Linked DNA regions of Homo sapiens: regions 2 and 3 are each linked to region 1. The links are contacts of gene promoters, found by promoter capture Hi-C in human tissues and cell types (Jung and others, 2019). All regions are on one chromosome and are shown on one strand. The core of a region is centred on a gene start or on the middle of the fragment in contact, and the rest is flanking DNA. Distances in the headings are between cores, read along the strand shown.

Region 1 (3,955 bases), core at 508-3,007:
CCACCAACCTGAAATAACTGTTCACTCCATAAGCTTTAGTTTTTCCTAATAAATTTTATCATGTTTTTCTGCCACATTTGGTGACTTGTCTTTTGGTAAACCTCTGGATATCAGTAAAGGTGTCCTACACATTGATCTCCATTCATTCTGACTAGCAGACAACCTTCAAAACAGTACTCATACAGTGTGATTGTTATGTGAATTTTGAGAAAATCCAATATTAAAAAAGCTGACAGGTGTGAAACAGAGAGTACACTTCACCAAAAAAATCAACATACTGGCTAACTAAATGACGAACTAAAACTCACTTCTCCAACCTAACAAAACCATCTCTTAAAAGGTCTTTGTTTTCAATAAGCTGATAGATCAAATTAAGCCCCCAACTTCAGTTCTATCCCAGTATAATACTCAAATCTTACCACTTTTTTAAAAATACAGAAGTGGCTGGGCGCGGTGGCTCACGCCTGTAATCCCAGCACTTTGGGAGGCCGAGGCAGGCAGATGACCTGACGCTGGGAGTTCGAAACCAGACTGACCAACATGGAGAAACCCCGTTTCTACTAAAAATACAAAATTAGCCGGGTGTGGTGGTGCCTGCCTGTAATCCCAGCTACTCAGGAGGCTGAGGCAGGAGAATTGCTTGAACCCGGGAGGCAGAGGTTGCAGTGAGCCGAAATCCCGCCGTTGCACTCCAGCCTGGGCCACAAGAGCAACACTCCGTCTCGAAAATAATAAATAAATAGGCCAGACGCGGTGGCTCAAGCCTGTAATCCCAGCACTTTGGGAGGCGGAGGCGGGCATATCACGAGGTCAGGAGATAGAGACCATCCTTGCCAACACAGTGAAACCCCGTCTCTACTAAAAATACAAAAAATTAGCCGGGCGTGGTGGCGGGCGCCTGTAATCCCAGCAGTATACTCAGGAGGCTGAAGCAGAAGAATCGCTTGAACCCGGGAGGCGGAGCTTGCAGTGAGCCGAGATCGCGCCACTGCACTCCAGCCTGGCGGACAGAGCGAGACTCCGTCTCAAAAATAAATGAATAAATAAATAAATAAAAATAAAAAATAAAAATACAGAAGCAAATGAAAATATCTGAACTGAAAAGTTTAGCTATGTTAAGAAATATTCCTAATAACACATTTACAATTTGAAAAATCCCCTTTACCCTTTAGGGCAGTATGACAAGCACACACAAAAATAAGTGCAGTGATAACACCTTGCCACCCTGGAGTCTTTCTGAAATTTTAACGACACACCAGGGCTAGGGAGTGGGAGGGTAAGGGGACTAAAAGTTCTAGATAAAAAGCCACTTTAAAAACCAAATAAGGTTCTAAGTGACCCTGATATAGGTAACCATGCCACTAGCTTTAAATATAAAAAAAGAGTTCCTACAGTTTTAAATTTAAAATTAAAAACAAAAAAAAAACTCCTGCAAGAATAAAGTCAATGATTTTCAGGATCCCAAACACGTCTCTACTTATAACCACCCATATCTTGGAATTAAAGCTTGTTAGTCAAAGTCACAGGACATATTAACCTAACTCGTTAGTGAACACTCATTAGCTCAATTCAAGCTCCAGAACATAGTTTCGGAATACAGCACCCGTTCTGCCTGGCCGACTGCCCTGGTCAGCACAGGCACTCGCTCTCCAGTCTGTCGCTAAGCTGGATTTGATTTTTAACGCTTTACAAAGAGCTTTGACATTAAGGAAAAAGACGTGACACTTACCTTGAGAAGCGAAGGCAGCCTAACCAACTTCCGGTTTTGTTACAACTTGTATCACATTTCAGCAGCTGGGTGGAGCCAGTTAAGCCTTGAGCCAAAAGGGAACCTTTCCCAAACTAAGCTGCAGAACTTGATTTGCAAGACCAGTGCTAGTTTTAGGACTCCATTTCTGAAAACTTAGAATTCTGTTTTACACTAAGGAACAGTGTTTGCCAACTAGTACCTACTTCGCCACAAAAATTATAGTTTTTGTGTTTAATTGCAAAACTATTTGAAAATACCTGTTCTATAATAGTGCTAAGTAAAAGCAAATTAACTTTTAAAAAGTGGAAAAAGATCAGATTGCATAGAACCGAAACCTTTCTGCAGTGTGAATGATATAATGCAAAAGAAATCTTTTATTTTGCAAATTACCCCTGAAATTTAGGAGTTTTGTTTCTTTTTAAGCCTTTAATCTGTTTCACAAGACTCTTTTGCAAAAGAAAAATTTTAGGGCTAGGAAAAGACAATGTAATTGAATTTTTAACAATCTTTGTTTTTATTTTGTTTTTTGTTTTCCTGTTTTTTACTTTTTTTCTTCTCTTTAATGTAATTGAAAATATTAAACATTCCATTTCAGACCTTGAGTGACATTGTAATTGCCCAGTGGGTTCACCTTGCCCGCTGTCTAGACAGAGCCGATTTATCAAGACAGGGGAATCGCAATGGAGAAAGAGTAATTCACGCAGAGCTGGCTGTGCAGGAGACCGGAGTTTTTTGTTTTGTTTGTTTGTTTGTTTTGTTTTGTTTTGTTTTGAGACGGAGTCTCTGTCTGTGGCCCAGGCTGGAGTGCGGTGGCATGATCTCGGCTCACTGCAGCCTCCCCGTCCTAGGTTCAAGCGATTCTCCTGCCTCAGCCTCCCCAGTAGCTGGGACTACAGGCGCCCGCCACCACGCCCGGCTAATTTTTGTATTTTAGCAGAGACAGGGTTTCACCATGTTGGCCAGGCTAGTTTGGAACTCCTGACCTCAAGTGATTCCACCTGCCTCAGCCTCCCAAAGTGCTGAGATTACAGGCATAAGCCACCGCGCCCAGCCCGGAGTTCTATTATTACTCAACACAGTCTCCCCAGGATTCGGAGATCAGAATTTTTAAAGATAATTTGGCGGGTAGGGGCTTGGGAAGTGGGAGTGCTAATTGGTCAGATTGGAGATGGAATCATGGGGGGTCGACGTGAGGTTTTCTTGCTGTCTTCTGTTCCTGGGTGGGATGGCAGAACTGGGTGAGCCCAATTACCGGTCTGTGTGGCATCAGCTGATCCACCGAGTCCAGGCTCTGCAAAATATCTCAAGCACTGATCTTAGGTTTTACAATAGTGATGTTATCCCCAGGAGCAATTTGGGGAGGTTCAGACTCTTGGAGCCAGAGGCTGCATGACCCCTAAACCATAATTTCTAATCTTGTAGCTAATTTGTTGGTCCTGCAAAGGCAGACTGGTCCCCAGGCAAGAAGGGGGTCTATTCAGGAAAGGGCTACTACCAATTTTGTTTCAGAGTCAAAACATGAACTGGATTCCTTCCCAAAGTTAGTTTGGCATATGCCCAGGAATGAACAAGGACAGCTTAAAGATTAGAAGCAAGACAGAGCCAGTTAGGTCTGTTCTCATTCACTGCCATAATTTCCTCAGTTATAAAAGGCTTTGCAAAAAGCCTTTTTGCAAAGGCGCTTTCAACATATGCAGACTGGAAAATAGATTATGACCCATGCCTTGACCTGTGAATGCTGGTTATCAATCAACCCCAGTAAATTCTTTAAACCATTTTTAAAGAGAGAACAGAGAAAGGAACACCATCACGTTACGCTTTCTCTTAAAGAACTAGTCACAATTAACAAAAGCCCCTCTCTACAGGTTATTAAAGAGAGGCTTTAAATAAAGATGACCCAGAGTTGGTTTGCTATCCTAAAGCTGCTGGGAACATGAATAGTTTTAAACTAAGTCAGCTGATCTTCAGTTCTTCAAAGCCTCAAGTGGTGAAATAGCCTTCTGCAGATAACAGACCCTTTCCAGGAACTGTCCCCATTGCATGCCAAAAGTATGATATGTCTATAAAACAAAAACTCTTCGACTATATTATCAGAACCCTACATTCTAAAGCACTCTTAGGAAGTGGTACGACACAGTGGGAAGAACTGAATGGAGAGAGAGGCTAGCTTTGTCTAAAACAACCCTTTCACTAGGCTCAGTGGCT
Region 2 (3,955 bases), core at 529-3,028, 400 kb after region 1:
TTTCTTGGGTATATTCATAGGAGTAGAATTGTTGAGTTATATGGTAACTTTATGTTTAACATTTTTCTTTTTTGAGACAAAGTCTCGCTCTGTCATCCAGGCAGGAGTGCAGTGGCACCATCACGGCTCACTGCAGCTTCAACCTCCCAGGCACAGGTGATCTTCCCACTTCAGCCTCCTGAGTAGCTGGGACTACAGGCATGCTCCACCACGCCCAGCTAATTTTTGTATTGTTTGTGGAGACAGGGTTTTGCCATGTTGCCCAGGCTGGTCTCAAACCCCTAAACTCAAGCAACCCGCCTGCCTTGGCCACCCAAAGTGCTGGGATTACAGGCGTGAACCACTGTGCCTGGCTATGTTTAACATTTTCAGAAACTGCCATGCTGTTTCCAAAATGGTTGCACCATTTTACATTCCCACCAGTGGCATATCAAGGTTCTGATTTATTCACATCCTCACCAATATTTGCTATTGTCCCTCTTTTTTATTATAGCCATCTAGTGGGTGCGAATGGTATCCGATTGTGGGTTTGATTTGCGTTTTCCTGGTGAGTAATCTATAGATATTTAATAGACTTTGTAATGGCTTGCAAAGAATACAGTTCAACTTCAGAATTCAATTTCATCTTACTACATGTTAATTTTATCTAGTCTTTACTTTTTACATATAAAAATGTATAAAATCTTTGTCATTTGAAGCACATTCCTGTTGATTTTTGATCTATTGCAAACATAAGAATGATCTCAAACTAGAAAAATGCAAACTAGAAACTGGAAAACCGGCCAGGCACGGTGGCTCACACCTGTAATCCCAGCACTTTTGGAATGCTGAGGCAGGTGGAGTTCGAGACCATCCTGGCCAACATGGTGAAACCCCATCTCTACTAAACATACAAAAATTAGCTGGGTGTGGTGATGCGTGCCTGGAGTCCCAGGTACTAGGAAGGATAAGGCAGGAGAATTGCTTGAACCTGGGATGCAAAGTTGCAGTGAGCCAAGATTGCACCACTTTACTCCAGCCTGGGCGACAGAGCAAGACTCGGTCTCCAGAAAAAAAAAAAGAAAGAAAAGAAACTGGAAAACCTTTTGCAAAAAGCTATTTCTATCCCAGAAAATTCTTCACTCATGAAAAAGAGAGTAAGTTTAGAATTGAAAATTTTGAAAATTTTAGGCTGTTAAAAGGATACATAATAAATATGAGCAGTCCTGAAAGCATGAAGTTTAACTAATTTGAATATTTGTTTGCCAGAAATCTCTTGACATTCTGAGAGTTAATACATAATTTTAGCAGTTTTGTATATTAACTGATCTTCAATAAGGATTTTATTTTAATGAACAGAAAGCCAAAAGTAAACAAAGTGTTGAATTTGCTGTCTTTAAGTATTTGGGTTTGTAAAATACCTCTCTTAGTATCTGTGTATTTTGATCTATCACTTGCCTAAAATTTAATCTGCTAACAGGTGCCCTGTGGCAGTGGGATATGTGTGGCCTTCTGATCTAAACAGCTAAGCTTCCCATAGATGTGGGTAACTAAGAAAAAATGTATAATGTCAGCTATTCAATTATATTACTTATTATAAAAATAGAACTATTCAAACAATGGGCTTAATGGTTATTATTACTAAGACAGAAATGAAATTCAGAGCAAGATTTAGTAACAAGTAAATTAGGAATCTTATCCCTTGACCTTTAACTTAAGGAATTAATCCAGTAACCATTATAGCCAAGTACTAGACATTGGAGATACAAAAAGCTCTGTTGTTACTGAGTTCACGGTCAGGCTATTATTAGAAAAATCTATTTCCATCTCTGTAAAGATCGCTAAATTCTTTCTGGTTCTGTGTTTTTATGATCTAAGTCCAGAATATACGATTTATTAATTTGGTTACCTTGAGCAAGACATCCCCCATCTGTGGGCCTTACCTATAAAATGTGAGGTTATAATTAAATGATATCTATGTATTTTCCAGCTTAAATATTCTATAATTCCTATACAGCTTTTTCTAAAAAAAAAAAAAAAAAAATTGAGAAAGGCTGTCTCCATGTTGCCCAGTCTGGTCTCGAACTCCTAAGCTCAAGCAATCCTCCTGCCTCAGCCTCCCAAAGCACTGGGATTACAGGTGTGAAGCTGCTTATTTTAATCTTGATATTCTTTCAGGTCTCTAATCGAAATTTTATAACTCTTCTAAAACCCTTTTGAGGCCGGGCGTGGTGGCTCACGCTTGTAATCCTAACAATTTGTGAGGCTAAAGCAGATGGATCACTTGAGGTTAGGAGTTTGAGACCAGCCTGGCCAACATGATAAAACCCTGTCTCCACTAAAAATACAAAAATTAGCTGGGTATGGTGTTGTGGGCCTGTAATCCCAGCTACTCAGGAGGCTGAGGCAGGAGAATCACTTGAACCCAGGAGGCAGAGGTTGCAGTGAGCCAAGATTGCGCCAATACACTCCAGCCTGGGTGACAGAGTGAGACTCTGTCTCTAAAAAAACAAAATAAAATTTGATTCTACAAATTTTATTGTAGAATAAGGCCTTTTTCTGATATTGCCACACCAATCGTTACCTAAGTACTTGATTTTTTCAAGGAGCTTGGCATCAAAAGGGAGAAAACACAATTTCTGTTTAAACTGTAGGCTTTTTTTCTTTCATTTTTTAGCTAAAGCTCTAGCCAATTTAGCTGAACGAAGCAGCATTAGATTACATTCTTACCCTTCTTACCCCTTGCCTGTGTACTGACCCCTTTCAAATCTGCTTCTTTTGTCTACTTCCTTGCCACTCAGTGTGATTTGCAGAACAGCAGCATCATTGTCTCCTGGGAGCTTGTTAGAGATCCAGACTCTTGGTCCTACTCCAGACTTACTAACCCAGAAGCTATTTTAAATAAGATCCCTATGGGATTCCTACGCAGACAAGTTTGAGAAACACTGGTCTATTTCAGAGCAGAGTAAAAAAGTAAGGACATTTCTTTGGGTTACCTTTGGTTGGTTTTAAATTTCTATGAATTTTCCAGTTAGCCTTTTCTCTGGTAATCAGCTTCTCTGTCTCACTTTAAAAGGTCTCTCAGATTCTTACCATTTTGCGTCAGTTATGATTGTTTATTTATTAATTTTTTTCTTTTTTTTTTAAATGAGACAGTGTCTTGCTCTGACACCCAGGCTGGTGTGCAGTGGGTGTGATTGTAACTTACTGCAGCCTTGACCTCCAGGGCACAATTGATCCTCCCGCCTCACCCCTCTGCCTCCCAAGTAACGGGGACTACAGGTGCATGCCACCACGCCCAGCTAACTTTTTGTTTTAGAGATGGGGTCTCGCTATGTTGCCCAGTCTGGTCTCAAGCTCGTTGGGCTCAAGAAATCCTCCTACCTCAGCCTGCCAAAGTGCTGGGATTACAGGCACAAGCCAGCATACCTGGAAAATTATTTATTTAGTCATATTACAGGTTTTAAACCTAACCTTTGATCTCTATATAATTTACTTTTAAAGTAGTTTATACTTAATTTTAACCACAATCCAAGCTTTATAATACTGTACAATGATTTTACAATGTAATTGTTTTAAGATTAAGGGAAAGGTGCTTTGAAAAACTACATTACACAAATTCCATGTAATGTTTCTAAAAGTAGAAGCTGATTTTGGTCTAACTTAACTTTTGGAAATTACATTTTGCTAACAGAGAATCCTCCTCCCTAATCATAAAATAGATGATGCCAAAAAAGAACAAGCAGTAAGAAAGGGCAAGACTGCACACTCATTATTCCTATATAGAGAACTTCTGAAATTTCTGAAATTAAGTGATTCTTAATTAATGACAAAGATCCCTTTTATCAAAACTTTAGCCAGGCTCCACATCCTCTGCTTGACCAGGATTGACCTTGGGCTTCCCTCTCTGTCCTTGCAGAATCCACTTTGAACAGGAATCTTGCTATGTCTGCACACTTACTAAAAACTAAGTGGG
Region 3 (3,955 bases), core at 671-3,170, 320 kb after region 1:
GACTGTGTTCTTCTACATACCACCTTGTGAAAATTGGCTGTGCATATTTTTTTTCCACTTGAGAATGAAAAATTTTAAGTACCTAGTTTGTCAATGGCATATGTAACAAACCATTTCTCTTTACTACTAGTCTCTTTTGAAACTTTTCTAATATCACAGTTGTGTATGTTAACTAACTTTTCATACAAAAGGCAGGCTTATGGTAAATAACCTTTGTTCACTGTTTGCTATATTTCCCTCTTTTCAACTGAAAATTAATGCCAAACAATGCTGATCATTTTGGCCAATATTAGCAGCTCATCAGTTTCCTGGCTTATTTAGCAGAGTTCTGTACTTATCTTCCAACCCACTAAGACTACTTTTAAATAAAAGAATGTTTGTGGGCTATACACAAAACTGGCAGTGCAAGCTTCTGCTAAGAATGAATGTAATTTTGGGCTAAAACAAAGGTCTCTTTTTCTTGGTAACCTGTGTTTTTCTCACTTCCAGTCACTTGAAATTATAATTACCTTCTTGAAACAAAGAAATGGTAATTTATTTTGCTACTGTAGTAAATACTGTATGCTACCTGATTTTATTTTGTTTTTTGTTGTTTCTGAGACAGTCTTACTCTGTCACACAGGCTGGAATGCAGTGGCACAATCTTGGCTCTCTGCAACCTCTATCTCCCAAGTTCAAGCGATTCTTTTAACATCAGCCTCCCGGGTAGCTGGGATTACAGGCATATGCCACCATGACCGGCTAATTTTTTTTGTATTTTTAGTAGAGACGAGGTTTCACCATGTTGGCCAGGCTGGTCTCGAACTCCTGACCTCAAGTGATCTGCCTGCCTCAGCCTCCCAAAGTGCTGGGATTACAGGCTTGAGCCAACACGTGCAGCCTGATTTTATTTTTGAGATCTTTCTATAAACGTTTTCCCCTTGGACTAACAAATTAATCATAGAATAGCTGTGTTCACATTTTGTGCTGAAAGTAATGATGTAATATTTTCGCATAGGCTGTTTTGCCAGTTGTTATTCCCAGAATTTTATAGAGAATGTGATAGTATCTCTTTTCTCCTAAAAAGGGAATGCCTTTTATAATTATGGCTTTAATAAAGAGAAGAGCAATTAGCTTGTAATTCATAAGTTAATACTAAAAGGTATGTAGTTTCTCCTTATGAGTAAAAGTATTTGTGTAAAAATCCTAATTACTTTATTCTTCCTCAGAATTCCATCATCCCTGGCCCTCCCTTCCTATTTGGAGCCTGTTCAGTACTGCTGGCTCTGCTTGTTGCCTTGTTTATTCCGGAACATACCAATTTAAGCTTAAGGTCCAGCAGTTGGAGAAAGCACTGTGGCAGTCACAGCCATCCTCATAATACACAAGCGCCAGGAGAGGCCAAAGAACCTTTACTCCAGGACACAAATGTGTGACGACTGAAATCAGGAAGATTTTTCTATCAGCACCCAGGTCTTAGTTTTCACCTCTAGTTCTGGATGTACATTCCATTTCCATCCACAGTGTACTTTAAGATTGTCTTAAGAAATGTATCTGCATGAACTCCGTGGGAACTAAAGGAAGTGGGAACTTAGAACCAGACAGTTTTCCAAAGATGTTACAATTTCTTTTGAAAAACCTTTTGTTTATTAGCACCAATTTCTTGCCACTAAGCTATTTGTTTTATTATACATCCTTTAATTAAAAACTATATATGTAACTTCTTAGATATTAGCAAATGTCTCTGCTACCATTTCCTTAAGGTGTTGAGCTTTAACTCTATGCTGACTCAGTGAGACACAGTAGGTAGTATGGTTGTGGACCTATTTGTTTTAACATTGTAAAATTTTGAGTCAGATTTTAATATTGTAAAATCTTGGGTCAAATAATTCAAAGCCTTAATGCAGATGCACTAAAACAAAGAAATGGTAAATGAATTGTTTGCATTTAAAAAAAAAAACTCTTAAGAAAACTGTACTAAATCTGAATCATGTTTTGAGCTTGTTTGCAGTACTTTTAAACATTATTCACTACTGTTTTTGAAGTGAGAAAGTATCAGCCATTTAGCATTTAAGTTGGGGTATTTAGAGCCTGTAATCTAAATGCTGGCTCAAATTTATTCCCCAGCTACTTCTTATACCACTATTCTTTTAATGTTTGCATAATCATAAGCACCTCAACACTTGAATACATAATCTAAAAATTATATAGTAAAGCTGGTAGCCTTGAAAATGTCAGTGTGATATCTATTATGTAGATAAATATATATAGTGGCCTTTCAGGACTGTCACAGTAACACTTTATTTACAGAGCTAATGTTTGTCCTAAATTTTCAGGACCCTAGAGGAGAGCTTTATACAATTACCGATGTGAATTTCTCTAAAGTGTATATTTTTGTGTCCAGTTATATTATTTAAAAAAGTGTTACTTTGTAAAAATTGTATATAAAGAACTGTATAGTTTACACTGTTTTCATCTTGTGTGTGGTTATTGCTTAATGCTTTTTAAACTTGGAACACTCACTATGGTTAAATAAGGTCTTAAAAGAAATGTAAATATTCTGTTAATAAAGTTAAATATTTTAATGATTTTTTTTTTAAAAAAGTCTTGATCTGTGAGTTCCTACAGGGTCTGTTTTGGCTTTGTTACCATATTTTTACAGTAACAAATCAAAGCATTATTCATTCTTTCTTTGCATCCATTTCTTTTCCCTCACTAAAAAATGCTCTTCAAGGAAGACAAGAGGAAAGAAACAAAAATGCAGTATGCGTTTTGAAGTACTTGATTTTCAAAGTGTAGATGCTGCATAATAGTTTATTAACAAAGCTCAAAGTTTACAGAAATAACATTAAATGCAACACTTTTTGATTATTAACACATGTACAATTTTACACTGCAAAACAATTGCAACTAAAAGTTTAGGAGGTAAAGAATTAGCACACTTGGAAGTCTGTATACATTTAATACAAATTTGCAAGATATCAGAATGATCTCTCCTGAAAATTCAACTTTCCTTGTGTATATATATGCAAAGAGATACCTATATTTTAAAAAAGAGAGCTACCTGTATGTCATGCATCCCATCCAAAACATGTCACAATATTTTATATATATTACATAGTATTTACAACAAAGCCCCTTCCATAGTATTTACAATAAAGCTCCTTCCAAAATCACCAAGAGGCTTCTTTCCAGAATAGCAAGTGCTTTCAAGTTACTGTACCAAGTATTCTCACTAATACAGTAGTGTATCTAAATGGGGGAGGTGGGGGAGTATCAACTGCCTAATATTAGTTACTGAATTTTCAGATTAGATCCCTAGTTTAAAGACACTTGCAATTGCCAATAGTTTCAAGATACTGGCTTCGTAAAAAAAAAAAAAAAATTAGCAAAGATTCTTTCTTACCATGGGACTCAGTAATGTTATTACATCAATATCTTGAAATGTTTCTTCATCTGTGTAATAAAGTAGTTGAAAATAATTTTAAATTATCACATGAGCATTAGTACTTTATAAAAATTGATCTAGAAGACTCTTTAGAGAATGCTACCAGGTATTGTTTGTCAATAAGAAAACAAAATGAGGCCCTATGATTCTAGGTGAATTTTAAAAAAATTTTTCCCCAAGGAACAATTCTTAAAACTTTCAGTTACAGGGAAGAGAAGAAAATTGTACCTTCTAACAGTTATTTGTTTTGCCTAGTTTATTAACATTGAAATCAACCCAAGTTCTGATACTATAAAAATAAATGAATATTCATGATATAGTAGATTTAGTAGTAGTACCAAGTTTTAAAAGTCCACTGATACAGATTTAACTGCATAATAAAACTACAAATTGAGAAAAACTAGATGAGTATAAACATTTAGGAAGCACTGAAGTTTTAAAAACTTGTCAGCTCAAATGACAAAAGCACTTAATCTGGTCACATAAAAACTGTCCAAATTATTTTAAGTATATCAAATTTATTTGATT

The links. The method cuts DNA at HindIII sites, captures the fragments that hold promoters and counts their contacts. A contact is called where the count stands out against the background at its distance.
Region 2: a contact is called between a fragment that was not itself captured here and the fragment with the promoter of FRRS1 in region 1, in 2 of the 25 tissues and cell types used here (H1 embryonic stem cells and adrenal gland).
Region 3: a contact is called between a fragment that was not itself captured here and the fragment with the promoter of FRRS1 in region 1, in 2 of the 25 tissues and cell types used here (H1 embryonic stem cells and spleen).

What each region holds. Positions count from the first base shown.
Region 1 is chr1:99,764,878-99,768,832 of GRCh38, forward strand. FRRS1 (ferric chelate reductase 1) reads right to left here and starts at 1,758. Exons shown (of 17, transcript NM_001361041.2): 1 at 1,730-1,758. The HindIII fragment of the contact is 12,687 bases long and covers 770-3,955 here.
Region 2 is chr1:100,161,592-100,165,546 of GRCh38, forward strand. All of the region lies in intron 3 of LRRC39 (leucine rich repeat containing 39), which reads right to left. Among named protein-coding and RNA genes, the nearest start is that of LRRC39, 15 kb to the right of the region's middle. The HindIII fragment of the contact is 7,164 bases long and covers 1-3,955 here.
Region 3 is chr1:100,080,795-100,084,749 of GRCh38, forward strand. SLC71A1 (solute carrier family 71 member 1) reads left to right here. Exons shown (of 12, transcript NM_033055.3): 12 at 1,209-2,583. The coding sequence ends at 1,415. It overlaps SASS6 (SAS-6 centriolar assembly protein), which reads right to left. Exons shown (of 17, transcript NM_194292.3): 17 at 2,776-3,955. Among named protein-coding and RNA genes, the nearest start is that of SLC71A1, 45 kb to the left of the region's middle. The HindIII fragment of the contact is 4,296 bases long and covers 1-3,955 here.